Linked DNA regions of Homo sapiens: regions 2, 3, 4, 5 and 6 are each linked to region 1. Evidence: promoter capture Hi-C in 16 types of primary human blood cells and fetal thymus (Javierre and others, 2016). All regions are on one chromosome and are shown on one strand. Each heading gives the region's core, a stretch centred on a gene start or on the middle of the fragment in contact. The rest is flanking DNA. Distances are from core to core; before and after follow the strand shown.

Region 1 (2,616 bases), core at 47-2,546:
CTTGATTTTATCCAGCCTCCAGAACTGTAAGACATACTTGTTTGTTATTTATAAGCCATCCATTCTATAATATTTTGTTATAGCAGCCTGAACTGATTAAAACACACACGTTTCTAATATAATCACAGTTTATTTTTATTGAATTGATGCAAAACAGTGAAATGGATGTTTTTCTGAATTCCAAGAGAATCTGAAAAGACGTTGATGCTAGTTATGACAAATATCAGTCAATGTAGTCAGTTGATTAAATATTACAAGGTCGATTAGTAAATTACATTTTAAAATAAAATGAATACTTTCTATTGCATATCAAACAAGTAGGCATTGTGTGTTCAAGATTCAGACTCATAGAATGGTAGTGAATGTAAAAACTCTTGGAAAGCTTCTTGCAAACACACATTAAATTTTATGAAACCTGAAGAGAAAGAGTATTTACCTCAACCTGGCTTATGTTACTTATTTTTAGCGTCTTTAAGGTATCGTTTATAATTAATTCCCCAGCCTTCTTCTTCTTGTAAATGTAAGCTTAGTGTCTTATGTTCTCAAAGCACTTCATCACCTTAGAATGTCTTATTCTTCTGAACTTAAAAGTTTTATGTTTGGGCGATACATGCGTAAAACAAAACAAAGAAATCTCCGCAGAAATAAATAAGTAACTGTCCATTGTAATGAAAAATGCTTGGATGGATAAGTATGAGTAAATAATATGGGGTCAGAGGAAAAAATATAATGTAAACTTCTAACAAGTTAAGCACGGGTAAATTGTGAAGTGCAATGCAAAATTCACATGAGTGTTTCATATATTAAGTAAAATCCACCAAAACAAAACACTGAATCTTCAAGGCAATTCTGTCCTTCCTGCCAGCTGCCACTACCTTTCTGGCAGCCTCCCTTTATCCCATTCCTCCAGCACAGGGAAATGATGCTCTGGCGACAAAGGGTACTTCCGCAGAAAACTTTTGAGAGGTACCAACTTAACTTCCAAGAGCTTGTAACTTACTCCGGTGATTTTAAGACGAAATTGGTGAGAAAGCTGTTAATATAGTAAAAAGTGCATAATAAATATATACGGGTATTAATCCTGCTCACAATCGCACCCAACACCTGAAAGAATTAAACCCTCCAACACCCTTCGGGTCTTTAAAATCTGGGCTGCGGTAATCCGAGCCCTAAGCGACCTCAGATGTGCGCATGCCCTGTTGGTGGAGCCGTGCTCCTCCTTCCTCGGGTCCGGAAGTCCCGGTTTGTTTGTTAAATTACGACCGTCGTAAACTAGAATTTTCTTGCGGCTTCTTAGCTTTACGATGGCAACAAGTATGGCGGCTGCTAGTGGTAGATTTGAAAGTGCGAAGAGTATCGAAGAGCGGAAAGAACAGACCCGGAATGCCAGGGCCGAGGTGTTGCGCCAGGTACCTCTGTTTTGGGGCTTTTGTAGTTATTTATTGTTGTGGGAGTTGAGGGTTCCCGTAAGCTAGCCCACTCACCCCTTCCCTTACCTCGTCAGTACTGAATCTCACCTTAATTTGGGTGAGTTCTCCCTTTGCAATGCCGGTAAACCCTTTTGTAGCTACCGATTTTTTAGATGTTCTGGCAGGTGCCAGTTGCTAATTCTCTTTTCAGGCAGATCTGTCGCTTTTTCTCCAAGTTTCTTTACCTTTTAAGTTACCCATTCTTTACATTTCTATCACTCGGACTGCACACTTTGTAGGTCCCCTGCGGCTTGTAAGGACTCTGCCAGCATGTCTCGCAGCCTCAGTCATTGCTACTGCTGTATCTGAAATGAGATTTTCCTTTTTCGGAAACACATTCAAGTCACACTTGAATAGACTCAGTTTGACATTTCCTCCTCCTGTCTCTATTGGTATCAATTCCAGACTTACTGTAAGCTCTTACCAATCCAAACAAAAGTTAACACCAATCTCAGTATATTTAGCCTGTCACAAAAGATCGCGAAACATTGTATTTCTCACTAAACTTCAGATACATAGAGGTAACATACAAAGAATGGAGAAAGTAAGCTTCTGAATTATCTGACAATCTATTCAATATGTAAGAAGTGTGGCAATGAAAGAGAAAAGTTGCAGTTGGAGAGCAACAGAGAATTCAGTGAGGGTTTTTGTTTTTATTTAAGTTGGAAGAGTTTTAAACAAGTTTAAATGCAAATGAGAAGGAGCCAGCAGAGAAGAGGGAGAGGAGACTCTAAAGGGAAAATGACATAGTTTCAAAATTTGGCAAATAATTTGAGGGTGAAGCAGCCCCATTCTCCTTTAATCTCCAATTTTCTCACCCTGTTCTTTGGAGTCCATCATAAGCCCTGCTCTTTTCTCTGATATCGATTTTTCTGTTTGGTATATAACCATTGTATTCATCTTCTTGCCTACACCAAGAATTATTATATGCACCCAGGGAAAAGCTAGCTGCAGAATGTTGGACTACCTCTCCATGATTTTCCCTTTTCTGGAATATTAACTCTTCTAGTTCTTGTTGCTTCAGCAGTTCTCTGATATAAACCTTTAATAAATTATTTTTATATTTGATTAAAAAAAAAAAGAAAATGACTACAGCCAGGTTTTAAAGGGGAAGAGTGGGCGATTAGTCTTGGGTAGGTGAAATGTT
Region 2 (2,616 bases), core at 66-2,565, 4.8 Mb before region 1:
CAATACTACTGGGCCTTAAATTCTTGTCCCCTTACTCACATGAATGTATACAAAGTCTAAAGTAATGCTTTGTAAATTAAAAAGTGCTTGTGAGAAGCATTTGAAAAATCTTGGCCAGGCGTGGTGGCTCAAGCCTGTAATCCCAGCACTTCGGGAGGCCGAGGCGGGCAGATCACCTGAGGTCTGGAGTTTGAGAGCAGCCTGGCCAACATGGTGAAACCCCATCTCTACTAAAAATACAAAAATTAGCCAGGCATAGTGGCGGGCGCCTGTAATCTCAGCTACTCGGGAGGCTGAGGCTGGAGAATCGCTCGAACCTGGGAGGTGGAGGTTGTAGTGACGGGAGATCACACCATTCCAGCCTGGGCAAAAAGAGTGGAACTCCATCTCAAAAAAAAAAACAACAACAACAAAAAAAAACTTTATCAGTGCTTTACACATTAATAACTTTTATGAATTTATGTATTTTAGTTCTGTACAAATACCATTAGATATTACATGTAAGTGAGTACACTGAGACTGAGATACCATAGATTAAGGAAGAGGCTGTAGCTAAACCAGTAATCCTAATCTCCTGACACCTTGTCTGTTTTTTTTTATGCCACCACACCACATACTGTTTTATACTCTACGACTTATGTACCTGTTTTTTAAGGCAGGCTGTACCTCAAAGAATCAAGTCTCTTATCCTTGAACAAATTACCTACTTTCTTCGAACACTGCTGGCAAAGCTTTAGACCAAACCTATTTTTCTGCCATACATTACATTCCTAGGCAACATTCCCCTTTTGTCAGTCATTATTTACTCAAAGAATAAAATCTAATTTTAACATTAGCCTTGGCCATACCTAATCAGAAAGAAACTTGTTGTGTACTCTAGGACAAAGAAAAATGCTTTAAACCATTCATTGTTTTGGACTGTTTGTAAGAGTTGACATTGCAAGGTAAAACTTAACACACACCCAACCAAGACAACAGATCCTTTCATTCTGAACTCCCATTTAATTTCTCATTCAAGGCTCAAAGCATTCACACTGTGTCCGTAAGTTTTCCCATTCTTTATGTCTACATTTGCTGAATACTCTTTCATCCTTATTGAAGGGCTGAAATGTCATCAGTTTTTCTCTCACCTTTATAATTGTGCCCATGGCCATTTGGATTGTTGCATTTCCCAAACAGTTTCAAGTTTTCTTCATCACTTAGAAATTTACTGACCAAAAAAAAAAAAAAAAGTCAGCATGACACAAGTATCACATTCAAACCCCCTTCTCTGTTCCTTATATTTATTATTTGTACTGATCTTTGAAAAGTTTCCCAATTTATTACTTTAGCTCACCAAAGGGAGAGTCAGAAATCATGTTGATTTTATTACTTACGTATACGTCACAAACCATGGCATATTCCCTAATTAGAAGATTGTACCATACAAATTAGCACAAACAAACCTTAACTTCAACCCCCTTGTTCCACAGCAACTGATCTGCTCATGGGCCTTCCACTTTTCAATTCAACATTACTGAGTGCCTACAATGTAACAGGCAAGTGCTGAATGAAATAACAGCATATAATGATAAACATAGATGGTGATCCGCAAAGTGGCTTACTATCTCATTTCTCTCAGAAGCTAAACTACTCATCCAGAAAAAATAATTTAAAAAAATTACATGACCTGGTAAGTCTCCTATTTAGCAATCTTGCTTTATACTATGTCTCAACTACTGCCTCATGAGAACTTTACCAATCTGTTGAGGAATATTCCAAGCAGGTGAATTTTTAAAATTACAATCTTTGGCTGTCGTCTCAGACAGAAAACAAATTGCTTAATGTTTATACTTATACCCATCCATTCAATTTCGCATCGTCTATGAGACCTTACCACCCTCAGGTGTTTAAGCTTATTATACAACCCCTTTTTTTTGAGATCCTCTTTATTATTCCCCCCAATGTAGTTTGGATGTTTGTCCCCTCCAATTGTCATGTTGAAATGTGATCCCCAGTGTTGGAGATGGGGCCTAGTGGGAGATGTTTGGCTCATGGAAGTGGATCCCTTATGAATGGCTTGGTGCCCTCCCTGAAGCAATGAGTGAGTTCTCGCTCTATTAGTCAATGGGCGAGCTGGTTGTTAAAAAAAGCCTGGCACCTCCTCTCCTCTCTCTTGCTCCCTCACTTGCCCTGTGAGTTGCCTGCTTGCTCGCCCTTCGCCTTCCACCATGAGTGGAAGGTCCCTGAGGCCTCAACAGAAGCAGATGCTGGTGCCATGCTTCTTGTACAGCCTGCAGAACCAAATAAACCTCTTTTCTTTATAAAATACCAGTCTCAGTATTCCTTTGTGGCAATGCAAAATGGAATAACACACCCCCACTTTCTCCTGCTCAGCCACTTCTTGTATTTAGAGTGCTAAAGTCTTTTGCACAAAATTTTCTCAGTGTACCCTCCACAAAATAGGCCAGATTGGAAACCCCATACAAGATCCCTGATGCATCCGTTACCTAGCACAAGCCCTGACAAGCACGAAACAAAACCTGGTTTAGCGAATGGAGGGATGAATCCTGTTAGATAGCGATGGTCATCCTCATTTCACAGACGACGATACGGAGGGCCAGAGGGTGGAGCTGG
Region 3 (2,616 bases), core at 48-2,547, 4.6 Mb before region 1:
AGAACCATCGAAGCCTAAGGCATAGAAGAAAATTTGGGGTTAAGAAAGATGAAGAACAAAAAACAGCTTTATTGCTTATACATGACCAAGAAAAGGAAAACATGGCAAAAAAAAAAAAAAAAAGGCAAGATGTGTATTCCTTGCGAAAGAACAAGCCTGCTAACTTGGGAGGAAGGGAAGGTCAGGACCCAAATAGAGCCAATTTCCTGGAGATGGCCTGTTCTACTGGCACATTTTCCTGAGTCTGTGCTTAAAACCTTTCAGGTACTTTCAGGGCACAGAAACAATGCATGCTAAAAAATATATGGCCAAAGCTCCTTCCAACAAAGATTTAACTTGCTCCAGGAACAAAATAATTGCTTTAGGTTAAGAGGTAGTAATTAGAGACTATTCTTCTCCCTTTAGACCCCCACTAATCCCAAAAATAAAAATACACACCATGGAACACTGACAATTGAGTACCAAAGTATTAAAATTTAAAATAAATATCCCAAAAGGTAGCACCTGCTCATAGTTAAGGGATAGGGCACCTCTGTCCAACCATGTATTTTAAGACCAAGCACTTTATTAGAAATCTGTCCCGTAAAGAGAACAAATTTAGCAGTTAGAACTAAAAATACCAACTCATGGAATGTCATCATAGTTGTATCTACTGCTGGTGTCTTATACTGTCATGCTACTGTGAAGTAATTCCGTATTACACATCAGGAAAGTAAGGCCAGGAAGGTGAACTTACCTGCTCTGGGCCTCCTCATAACCAATGAGTGGCAGAACCAAGACCGAAAGTCTGAGTTTTCAAGCTTTTTACTCAGCCCATTAAGTGACAACCAGGAAAAAATAATACGTCACTTGATCTTTCTTCCCACAGTGAAAAAATGCACTTGCGTTCTGCCAGCCTTCTTTCAGTGATATGTTGGTTTCTTAAGAATTAACATACTAAGGATCACAGTATAGCAAAGGGAATTAATGTGGTCTCTGCTTGGTGCTTTAATCCAAAGGCAGACTGGGAAGAAGTGGATATGTCCCTGAGAAGCCTGTTTCATTTTGGAAATAATTCAACTTAGTTTCAGGGAAAACCTAAACTTCATGAACAGATTTAGAAATGAACAAGACAACATTTAAATGGCAGTTGCTGCCCTGAATCCAGAGTACCATTAGACAACATGATTATTTCCTAATTCTTCCCCATTTGGTACAGGATTATCTATGACAATTGAAGAAATAATTTGAACACAAGTCCATTTAGGCAAATATACAGCAATGGAACTAGAAAACCATTTACTATCCAATTACCATGTTTAGGCATATACTAAGTATAGCTATAGGCCCCATCCAGCAGGGAAATTTGCAAAAACTCTAGTCCCTTCTAATAAGTTGTCTATGGATGTTATCATGAAGGGAAAAGGTTTGTTCTTAGGCCCATGTCCTGATTAAGTAAACCGGACCACACCTGTGGGGTCAAAATATAGAAGGATCAAAGCACCAAGGCTAAAGACAAGTTAGTTGTGACACCTGCTATATAAACAGAGAGCAATACAGTGTTGCCTTGTCATACCATCCTACATGGCATTAGTTCCAATCCACCTCTTGATCCCAGCCCTTGACTTCCCCAAATTCAATATTCCGATTGGTGTACCCAGGTCACTATTGGATCCAGCTTTCTGGGTCCTTTAATTTGCTGTATATGCACTCTACACTAAACGTAATTAATTGCAAAAAAAAATAATCTCTTCAAGAAACCTTCATAACAAAATACCAGATTCCCTTTTAACAAGAAAAGGGGATCAAGCTTAACGCCAAAATAGAAGACAAGACGTCTGTCAGAACATACAGATGGCACAAGACAGCTCTGACCTCAGGCCCCGTGCTGAACAAGAGTCACTGGCAAAACCACAAGGAGTAAGAACTGTAAATATCCACAGTCATGTGGAAAACAAAAGTGTTTCCCATTTAGTCATCCTCTGAGCTCTCAGCAGACCTTTCATCTGTAGCTACTTTCCAATTTGTGCGTTTGTTTGTCCTCTCCTGTATTTCATTGTTGGCTACAGAGGTATGGGCTTTTTTCTCTCTCTTTTTCCTTTTGGTTTTCTTAGTGTCTCTTTCCTCACTTTCCTCAGAACTGCTGGATGCTGAATCATCTGAATGTGAAGTGTTACTTTCTGCCTCTAAGAATAAAGCAGGTTTTTTGAGAGACTTTTTCCTGGATTTTTTCTTGCGTTTATGTGGTTGTTTCCCTTTCCTTGTACCAGAAGCCCCAGTTTCTTCTGAGAACTCACTCGAGGAATCTGCTGTTATATCTGTGGCTTCCTTTTTGCTTTTCTTCTGTTTTTTGTGTGACCTTTTTTTCTGCTTTTTTTTGTGGGATTTCTTTGACTTCTTGTGTTTGCGGGATTCATGGGTAGATGACTTTACCTGGGGAGATGTTTTCTTCCCGTTGGTAATATCTTGCTGATCACTACTAATAAGAAAAGTTAAAAAATAGAAGCTTTTATGTAAAAAAAAAGCGTATTATTTTAATATTTTGCATTCTAGATTAAAAAATTGAGGTTAACATCTGAATTTTAAATAAGCACTTTAATGTATACTTTAACACTTTAATATTCTCATTGAGTTTTT
Region 4 (2,616 bases), core at 74-2,573, 4.4 Mb before region 1:
TTTGGTGGATTTTAGCTGGCTTCTTTACTGCAACCCGTTTTATCAGCAAGGTCTTTATGACCTGTATCTTGTGCTGAGCTATCTCATCCTGTGACTAAGAATGCCTTAACTTACTGGGAATGCAGCCCAGGTCTTAGCCTTATTTACCTAGCCCCTATTCAAGACGGAGTTGCTCTGGTATAAATACCTCTGACATTCTCACTTATAAGTGGGAGCTAAACATTGAGCAAACATGGACCTAAACATGGAAACAACACACACTCCAGGCTACTAACTAGAGTGGGGAGGGCGGGTGGTGTGGGTTGAAAAACTATTAGGTGCAATATACCCATGTAGCAAACCTGCAACCTACCTGGGTGCAATATATCCACGTAACAAACCTGTACCTGTACCCCCATTTGTAAAATAAAAGTTGATTTTTTTTAAAGGCTTACAACGCTCCCTATGACCTGGCCCCTGCCTAACTCTTCAGTCTCATCTGTTACTCTCCCTCCAATTGTGTTTCAGCCAAACTCAACTATTCTGTTTCTCCATCAAGCTTTTGCATATATTGTTCCTTCTGCCTCTTCACGCCTCTTGACTCAGTTAAGATGCACTTTTACCCTGTTAGCTTTCAACTCGGGTTTACTTCATCCAAGGACTCTCTGACCCTCTTCGCCCCCAAACTTGGTAACGTTCTTCTGTGTGCTCCCAGAGCACACACCCTGCCATATCAGAGTTGCCTGTTTTGCTCTGTGCATTCCCCACCAGACTGCAGGCTCATTGAAATCATAGGCCACATTTTGTTCATCCACATATCGTAACCACCCTCACAGTGGCCTGGCACGCAATAGACACTCAATACTCTTTCTTGAACGAATAGAAGATAGGAGATTTAAGCACCTGGAAGAGAAATTTTGAGCAGCAGAGACACTGGGAGGCAGCCATTTCAGACGAGGTGAAAAAAGGTTCAAAACCTTCTGCGTCAGGAGCATGCGAGACACAGTCCAACCTCTTCCTTGGCCTCAGCCCCGCCCCGTTTCTTTCACCCAGAACTCGCCTCACCCCCCTGCGCTAGTGACTGCTTGTGACCTCATGCAGGTGTGATGAAGTCGCTCAAGGCCATGCTTGGGCTAAAGACACTTTGATCTTCCCGAGGGGGTGAAAGGGCGAGGTGACAGGAAAGTGCGCGTCTTGCTTTTGCACTCATAGTTATCATCCACCGGGGAGTCGGTACACCGGCTCGTCTAGACAACCAGGCGCCATGGGTGCGTCATCAACTAGTGACGGGAGAAGACGGGGCGGAGAGAGATCCGTGAAGGAAGTGACGTAAAACGAGCGCCACAGAGAACGCGAGCCGGGAGTCCGTGGAGGCCATGGCCCCTCGGCGCCTCCTGTTGGTTGGGGAGGGGAATTTCTCCTTCGCCGCCGCTCTGAGCGAAACCCTGGATCAGAGCACTCAACTTACCGCCACCTGCCTCCAGCGCCCGGCCGAGTTGGCTCGGGATCCACTGGCCTGGGAGAATCTGCAGTGCCTGCGCGAGCGAGGTAGCGAGCCCGCCCCTCTGCGAAACCCCGCCCAGCGGCCGGCGCGTCCCAAAGTGGAAAGGGTGGGGGCGTGGGGATGTAACCCACGTGGAGATTGTTCTTGATCGTCCCACGGATATTCACATAAAGCCGGCTTTGTGCCCAGACTTGGGCTGGTCTGCACGGTTTAAGTTAGGAAGAGTTTTTCTGTTCCATGTCTTGAGGCATCCTCCTGTCTATATTTTGCGCCCCCAAACTATCTTTGCCAGGTATCGATGTACGTTTCGGTGTGGACTGCACCCAGCTGGCAGATGTCTTTGAACTGCACGAGAGAGAATTTGATCAAATTTATTTCATCTTCCCGCATTGTGGACGCAAAGCTGGCGTAGCTAAGAACAGGGAACTGCTTGCCAAATTTTTCCAAAGGTGAGGAAAGGAGCGCCCTCACAAGGAAAATGTTTAAGATGTCCATAACATAGTTACTGTACCCAAACATAAGGCACACGTGCAAGCTACTATGATATGTTTAGAAGAGACTATAAAGCCCCAAAGGAACCCCAAGTTTAGTTGGAAAGACAGATATATAAACCCTAAATGCTAAATGAAAGTACAAATAATGTACTCTTGGGTGTGTAAAAGAGGATCATTTATTTTTGACAGTGCAAAATAATGAGAGCCATATAGTCTAATGGCTAAGAACGTGCACTTAGAAGCCAGACTGCCTGGATTCAAATCCCAGCCCACCACTTAACAGTTGTTATTTTTTTATTTTTATTTATTTTTATTTTTTGAGACAGAGTCTCGCCCTGTCGCCCAGGCTGGAGTGCAGTGGTGTGGTGCAATCTCGGCTCACTGCAAGCTCCGCCTACTGGGTTCACGCCATTCTCCTGCCTCAGCCTCCCAAGTAGCTGGGAGTACAGGCGCCCGCCACCACGCCCAGCTAATTTTTTGTATTTTTAGTAGAGATGGGGTTTCACCGTGTTAGCCAGGATGGTGTCGATCTCCTGACCTTGTGATCCGCCTGCCTTGGCCTCCTAAAGTGCTGGGATTACAGGCATGAGCCACCACGCCCGGCCAACAGTTGTTATTTTAAGCAAGCTTACTTAATCT
Region 5 (2,616 bases), core at 63-2,562, 4.4 Mb after region 1:
GTTTTACACACAATTAGAGGTAAAGGGCTTCTACCTGAGAGAATTCCTCGTCCTCCATCTTCTGTCTTGCAGATTTGGGGCTGGAATTCACTATCTGACCCAAGCCAAAAATGTGTTTTAGAATAAGACTCCCCTGTTTGTAATGGAAGCAGTTCTTCCATAGAGAAATTTTACACAAACCTCAATTTTTGCAGAAAAAGGTTCCGTGATCACTAGTTTATAATCAGAAATCACTAAACATTGAGAAATCAATCTTAAAAAATGAACTTGAGAATCAGACCCTTTAAGATTAATTTATGAATTATCACAATTTCCGCATAAGACAACTCTGTGGTTACAGAAAAGAGAATGGTCTCAGATATCAGACTCCGAATAATTAAATTTCTGAAAGTGAAAAACAGCAGATTAAAAACTCCTGGGCATGGTGGCTCACGCCTGTAATCCCAGCACTTTGGGAGGCTGAGATGGGCCAATCACGAGGTCAGGAGATTGAGACCATCCTGGCCAACATGGTGAAACCCTGTCTCTACTAAAAATACAAAAATTAGCTGGATGTGGTGGTGCACGCCCATAGTCCCAGCTACTAGGGAGGCTAAGGCAGGAGAATCGCTTGAACCGGGGAGGTGGAGGTTGTGACCTGAGATTGCACCACTGCACTCCAGCCTGGGGACAGAGCGAGACTCAATCTCAAAACAAACAAACAAACAAACACTCAGCAGATGAGATAGAAAGAAGATAATGTAGTTGACTTGTAAGGATCAGTGATCTACGATATCTAAGGAGATTAGTGCAGAGAGGCAGAAGGGGAATGTGAAAGAGATGCTAACGAACATGGAAGATAAATTTTTTTACTGTTGAATTTTCAGAGTTTGCTGATACTAGTCTTTTGTTGAATGTGTGTTTTGCAAACATTTTCTTACATTCTATAACTTCTTTCATTCCTGTAACAAGGTCTTTTGCAGAGCAAAAGTTTTTGATGATGTCCAGTTTATTAGTTTTTCCTTTTATGGAGTGTACTTTTTTTTGAGAATCTCACTCTGTTGCACTCCAGTGAGTTGTCTCACTCACAGTTTGCACTGCAACCTGTGCTGCGATCTTGGCTGACTTCAACCTTCACCTCCTGGGTTCAAGCGATCCTCCCACATCAGCCCCCCGAGTAGCCACACATGCATGTGCCACCATACCTGGCTAATTTTTCTATTTTTTAGTAGTGACAGGATTTCACCATGTTGGCCAGGCTGGTCTCAAAATCCTGACCTCAAGTGATCTGCCCGCCTGAGCCTCCAAAAATGTTGGGATTACAGACATGAGCCCCCGCCTCAGTTTTGATGTACTTTTGATTGTACTTTTGATGTCAAGTCTAAGAATTATTTGCCTAGCCTTATATCATGAGAATTTTCTCATGTATTTTTCTAGAAGCCTTCCATTATTAAATTTTACATGTAAGTCAGTGGTGCATTTTGAATTAATTTCTGTAAAAGCTATGTAAATGTTGGACATATTTGTGTACATTTATTTCTGGGTTCTCTGTTCCACTGATGTGTCTTAACCTTCTGCCAGTACCACACAGTCTGGATTACTGTGGCTAAATACTAAGACTTGAAATCAGGTAGACTTATGCATCCTGTTTCAAAATTGTTTTAGGTATTCTAGTGTATTTGCTTTTCCATATAAATTTTAGAATAGTCTTTTCTTTACAAAAATATCTTGCTGAGATTTTGGTTAAATAGCATATAAATTTGGGGAGAATTGACATTTTTACTGTTTTGAGTCTTTGAATACTCTTAATATTCCTGATATTGGTAATTTTTGTCTTCTCTCTTTTTTTGTCAGTCTTGCTTTGAATACTGGAAGATAGTAATGTCTCTTCATTTTTTTAGGTATTTGATTTTTTTCATCAGTTTTGTGTAGTTTTCGGCATATACGTCCTGTACATCTTTTGTTAGAATTACACCTAAGTATTTTATTTTTACTTCAACCTGTTGTAAATGGTATTTTACATTTTAGTGTCCACATGTTCATTACTAATATATAGAAATACAATTGATTTTTATATGTTTATCTTGTATCCTGTGACCTTGCTGAACTCACCTGTTCGTTCTAAGATGTTTTCTGTATAGACCTTGGATTTTCTACATAGTCATGTCATCTAGAAATAGGGACAGTTTATTTCTCTTTTCTGATCTATATATCTTTTATTTCTTTTATTATTATACTTCAAGTTCTAGGGTACATGTGCACAACGTGCAGGTTTGTTACATATGTATACATGTGCCATGTTGGTGCTGCACCCGTTAGCTCGTCGTTTATGTTAGGTATATCTCCTAATGCTATCCCTCCCCCCTCCCCCCACCCCCCGACAGGCCCCGGTGTGTGATGTTCCCCACCCTGTGTCCAAGTGTTCTCATTGTTCAGTTCCCACCTATGAGTGAGAACATGCAGTGTTTGGTTTTCTGTCCTGTGATAGTTTGCTCAGAATGATGGTTTCTAGCTTCATCCCTGTCCCTACAAAGGACATGAACTCATCCTTTTTTATGGCTGGATAGTATTCCATGGTGTGTATGTGCCACATTTTCTTAATCCAGTCTATCATTGATGGACATTTGGGATGGTTCC
Region 6 (2,616 bases), core at 63-2,562, 4.4 Mb after region 1:
GTGCTGAGTGGTCCTCACCAGTGGCTTTCCATAACTGCTCACATGTTACCTATGGATTTTCCAAAGAAGTCATGCATAGCCATGGCCCAAGAATTTGCTGAATCCCATTCAAACTGCCCAGTGTAGATGACCCTATTTTCAATGGCTGAAAACATGGTTATTGTTAATATCCCTGCAACTAAAGATGAAGTCATCAAAAAGGTGGTAGTGATATAGATAAGAAAGCTCCATTATCAGAATTTGGGTGAGGATAAAAACCAAGACAACTCACTCCTTTTACGTATCTCCTTCATTGCAACGCCTTCCTTTGATTCTGTAAAATGCTTCAAAATATATCCTCTTGCTAAATATAGAATTTGATTTTTGTTTAATGTACTCTAAAGACCTCAACTGATACGTGGTTTTGTACCCTTTAGCAATTTTGATAACATTGTTATCAAAACATTTATTTAACATTTATTTTCTCATTTTTTTCAACACCACAATGCTGTGATGTCAGACAAGGCAAGTATTATTATTTTATCTTACAAAGAACAAAACTGAGTCACAACATGGTTAAATGTTTTATCAAGTTTGCAAAGTTAAAAAGGAAATTCATCAGTCTAATGGTGGTTCTTATTTTAACAAACCCTTTACACTATGCCACTTTCCAATGTTAAGTCTTGGAAGTGTATAGTGTGATAAATGCCTATTCAGCAAATACCAAAATTAGGAAACTACACTTAAGAACATACCCAGTGCAAGCTGTCTCCATTCAATTTTGGTCTTCTCTACCATCTCATCCAAACAAAAAGAGAGTTCTCTTCAGCAAGTCATCAAAACAATACAACCTCTGCCAGTAATTTTGGTTCTGTGAACTACTTTTTTTTAAGACAGAGTCTTGCTTTGTCACCTAGGCTGGAGTGCAGTGCCATGATCTTGGCTCACTGCAACCTCCACCTCCCAGGTTCAAGAGATTCTCCTGCCTCAGCCTCCGCAGAGCTGAGATTACAGGCATGCGCCACCACGCCCGGCTAATTTTTGTATCTTTAGTAGGAACAGAGTTTTGTCCATGTTGGCCAGACTGGTCTCGAACTCCTTGCCTCAAGTGATCCACTCACCTCGGCCTCCCAAAGTCCTGGGATTACAGGCATGAGCCACGGCACCTGGCCTGAACTACTTTTCTTCATTTGGGGTACATATTCACATATGGGAAAGCAAATCAGGTGTACTGCTTAATACAATTTCCCACCTGAGCACTTGTTCTTAGTCTTCCTGGTTAGGTTTCAAGTTGAAATTGCTCTGTCCTTGGCCAGCTGATATACAAGACATTGCTTTCTACCTATGATCCCACATCCAGAATTTTTTCGATTCTTACCTTTCCAAAAGCATCCAACCTAGGCAGCTCCTTTGAATCATTACTCTTTCTTCCTGTACTTTACTATTTTCTAAATTTTATTTTTTCCCATTCACTGTGACTTTTTAATAATTTATTTTAGAAGAGTTTTAATTTTGTGGAAAAATTGCAATGATACTACAGAAACTGCTCATATATCCCACACCCAGTTTCCCCTATTACTAATGTCTTACATTGGTATGGTACATTTCCCACAATGAATGAACCAATATTGATTTTTTTTTTCAACTAGACTTCACTTTTTGATAGGAAATGGTAAGTTTCTAGAATATGTGGGATGAGAGATATTGCTGTGACCACCTTTGAAGAATATAAACTGCCACGGTGAGGTATAAGCTGAAACCAATCTTATGCTTTTTCCTACTGCCTCTTTAAAACTGCACTGTGAACTCATTTTTCCCTATGCTTTGAACAAAATTTCAGTCCAGTCTCTTACTGTAGTAGGCTGTATTTACCTTTACTTGATGTTTCTCTCTGCAGGGGGATCATACATTCCTGCCCTCGTGACCTCAGGTGTAGCCATATGACTTGAACAGGATTAATGTGTCACTTCGGGGCAGAATCCTCAAGAGGCAGCATGGGATTTACCATGTTGTTCTTTCTCTCTGTCATGATGACAAGCAGTGTTCTAGGTAGTGACTGTTCCCTCAGTCTAGATCCCAGAGTGAACCACAGTCACAGCCAAGCTAAAATTGATGTGGTCTGGCACACCGCTTTAGGGTGTAGGGGGTAAGTGTCATGTGTTACACAGTTCTGCACCTCTGGGCCTCTCTAAAACACAAGGAGTTCTTGTAGGCTATACTGAAATGCCAAAACAAAAAATCCTGTCTTGACATCCCATTTCTACTATTCTCTTAGAGTTATCTTTCTGTAGATTTATGTGCATGAAAACATTTCAGAAAATTTTTAACTACAATGCTGTTTTAAAAATCAACATTAATATATGGAAGGGAGAGCATCTGCACAGATCCAGGACCACAATAACGCGGCATCCCATAAATCACTTAATGTCTGTGTTGCTTGTTATTCTCCCAAGTAGGAAAGTCCTATTTTAAAGAGGTGTTAAGAAAAACTAAACTATGTACGGAATATATAAATTAACACATCTTAGAGTACTATTTTTGGATACCTTGACAGAGATATAACTATTTTAAAAGATGTTTTTCATGGCTTTGTTTTATAACTCCCAAAAGCTAAGGGATGTATATGTGACCAAGATG

What was found. The method cuts DNA at HindIII sites, captures the fragments that hold promoters and counts their contacts. A CHiCAGO score of 5 or more calls a contact.
Region 2: a fragment that was not itself captured here is called in contact with the fragment with the promoter of CWF19L2 in region 1 in 3 of 17 cell types (fetal thymus, total CD4 T cells and naive CD8 T cells); the score reaches 7.4 in fetal thymus.
Region 3: a fragment that was not itself captured here is called in contact with the fragment with the promoter of CWF19L2 in region 1 in 1 of 17 cell types (fetal thymus); the score reaches 7.2 in fetal thymus.
Region 4: the fragment with the promoter of FDXACB1 here is called in contact with the fragment with the promoter of CWF19L2 in region 1 in 4 of 17 cell types (total CD4 T cells, naive CD8 T cells, non-activated CD4 T cells and 1 more); the score reaches 14.5 in total CD4 T cells.
Region 5: a contact is called between a fragment that was not itself captured here and the fragment with the promoter of CWF19L2 in region 1, in 1 of 17 cell types (non-activated CD4 T cells). The highest score is 6.0, in non-activated CD4 T cells.
Region 6: a fragment that was not itself captured here is called in contact with the fragment with the promoter of CWF19L2 in region 1 in 6 of 17 cell types (naive CD4 T cells, non-activated CD4 T cells, naive CD8 T cells and 3 more); the score reaches 8.1 in naive CD4 T cells.

Annotation. Positions count from the first base shown.
Region 1 is chr11:107,456,505-107,459,120 of GRCh38, reverse strand. It overlaps CWF19L2 (CWF19 like cell cycle control factor 2), which reads left to right and starts at 1,296. Exons shown (of 18, transcript NM_152434.3): 1 at 1,296-1,409. The coding sequence starts at 1,305. RefSeq lists an enhancer at 1,012-1,517. The HindIII fragment of the contact is 1,493 bases long and covers 528-2,020 here.
Region 2 is chr11:112,227,188-112,229,803 of GRCh38, reverse strand. PTS (6-pyruvoyltetrahydropterin synthase) reads right to left here. Exons shown (of 6, transcript NM_000317.3): 2 at 1,131-1,210. Among named protein-coding and RNA genes, the nearest start is that of PTS, 2.1 kb to the right of the region's middle. RefSeq lists a silencer at 2,444-2,616. The HindIII fragment of the contact is 1,163 bases long and covers 734-1,896 here.
Region 3 is chr11:112,082,307-112,084,922 of GRCh38, reverse strand. NKAPD1 (NKAP domain containing 1) reads right to left here. Exons shown (of 6, transcript NM_018195.4): 6 at 1-2,458. The coding sequence ends at 1,951. It overlaps TIMM8B (translocase of inner mitochondrial membrane 8 homolog B), which reads left to right. Exons shown (of 2, transcript NM_012459.4): 2 at 1-123. Among named protein-coding and RNA genes, the nearest start is that of TIMM8B, 3.1 kb to the left of the region's middle. The HindIII fragment of the contact is 989 bases long and covers 803-1,791 here.
Region 4 is chr11:111,877,872-111,880,487 of GRCh38, reverse strand. It overlaps FDXACB1 (ferredoxin-fold anticodon binding domain containing 1), which reads left to right and starts at 1,323. Exons shown (of 5, transcript NM_138378.3): 1 at 1,323-1,527; 2 at 1,776-1,932. The coding sequence starts at 1,356. It overlaps CFAP68 (cilia and flagella associated protein 68), which reads right to left and starts at 947. Exons shown (of 4, transcript NM_022761.3): 1 at 883-947. The coding sequence starts at 927. RefSeq lists enhancers at 1,070-1,539, 1,036-1,655. The HindIII fragment of the contact is 2,066 bases long and covers 541-2,606 here.
Region 5 is chr11:103,072,501-103,075,116 of GRCh38, reverse strand. The region is part of intron 4 of DCUN1D5 (defective in cullin neddylation 1 domain containing 5); the gene reads left to right. Among named protein-coding and RNA genes, the nearest start is that of DCUN1D5, 18 kb to the left of the region's middle. The HindIII fragment of the contact is 5,346 bases long and covers 1-2,616 here.
Region 6 is chr11:103,095,553-103,098,168 of GRCh38, reverse strand. No RefSeq gene overlaps it. Among named protein-coding and RNA genes, the nearest start is that of DCUN1D5, 4.7 kb to the right of the region's middle. The HindIII fragment of the contact is 8,986 bases long and covers 1-2,616 here.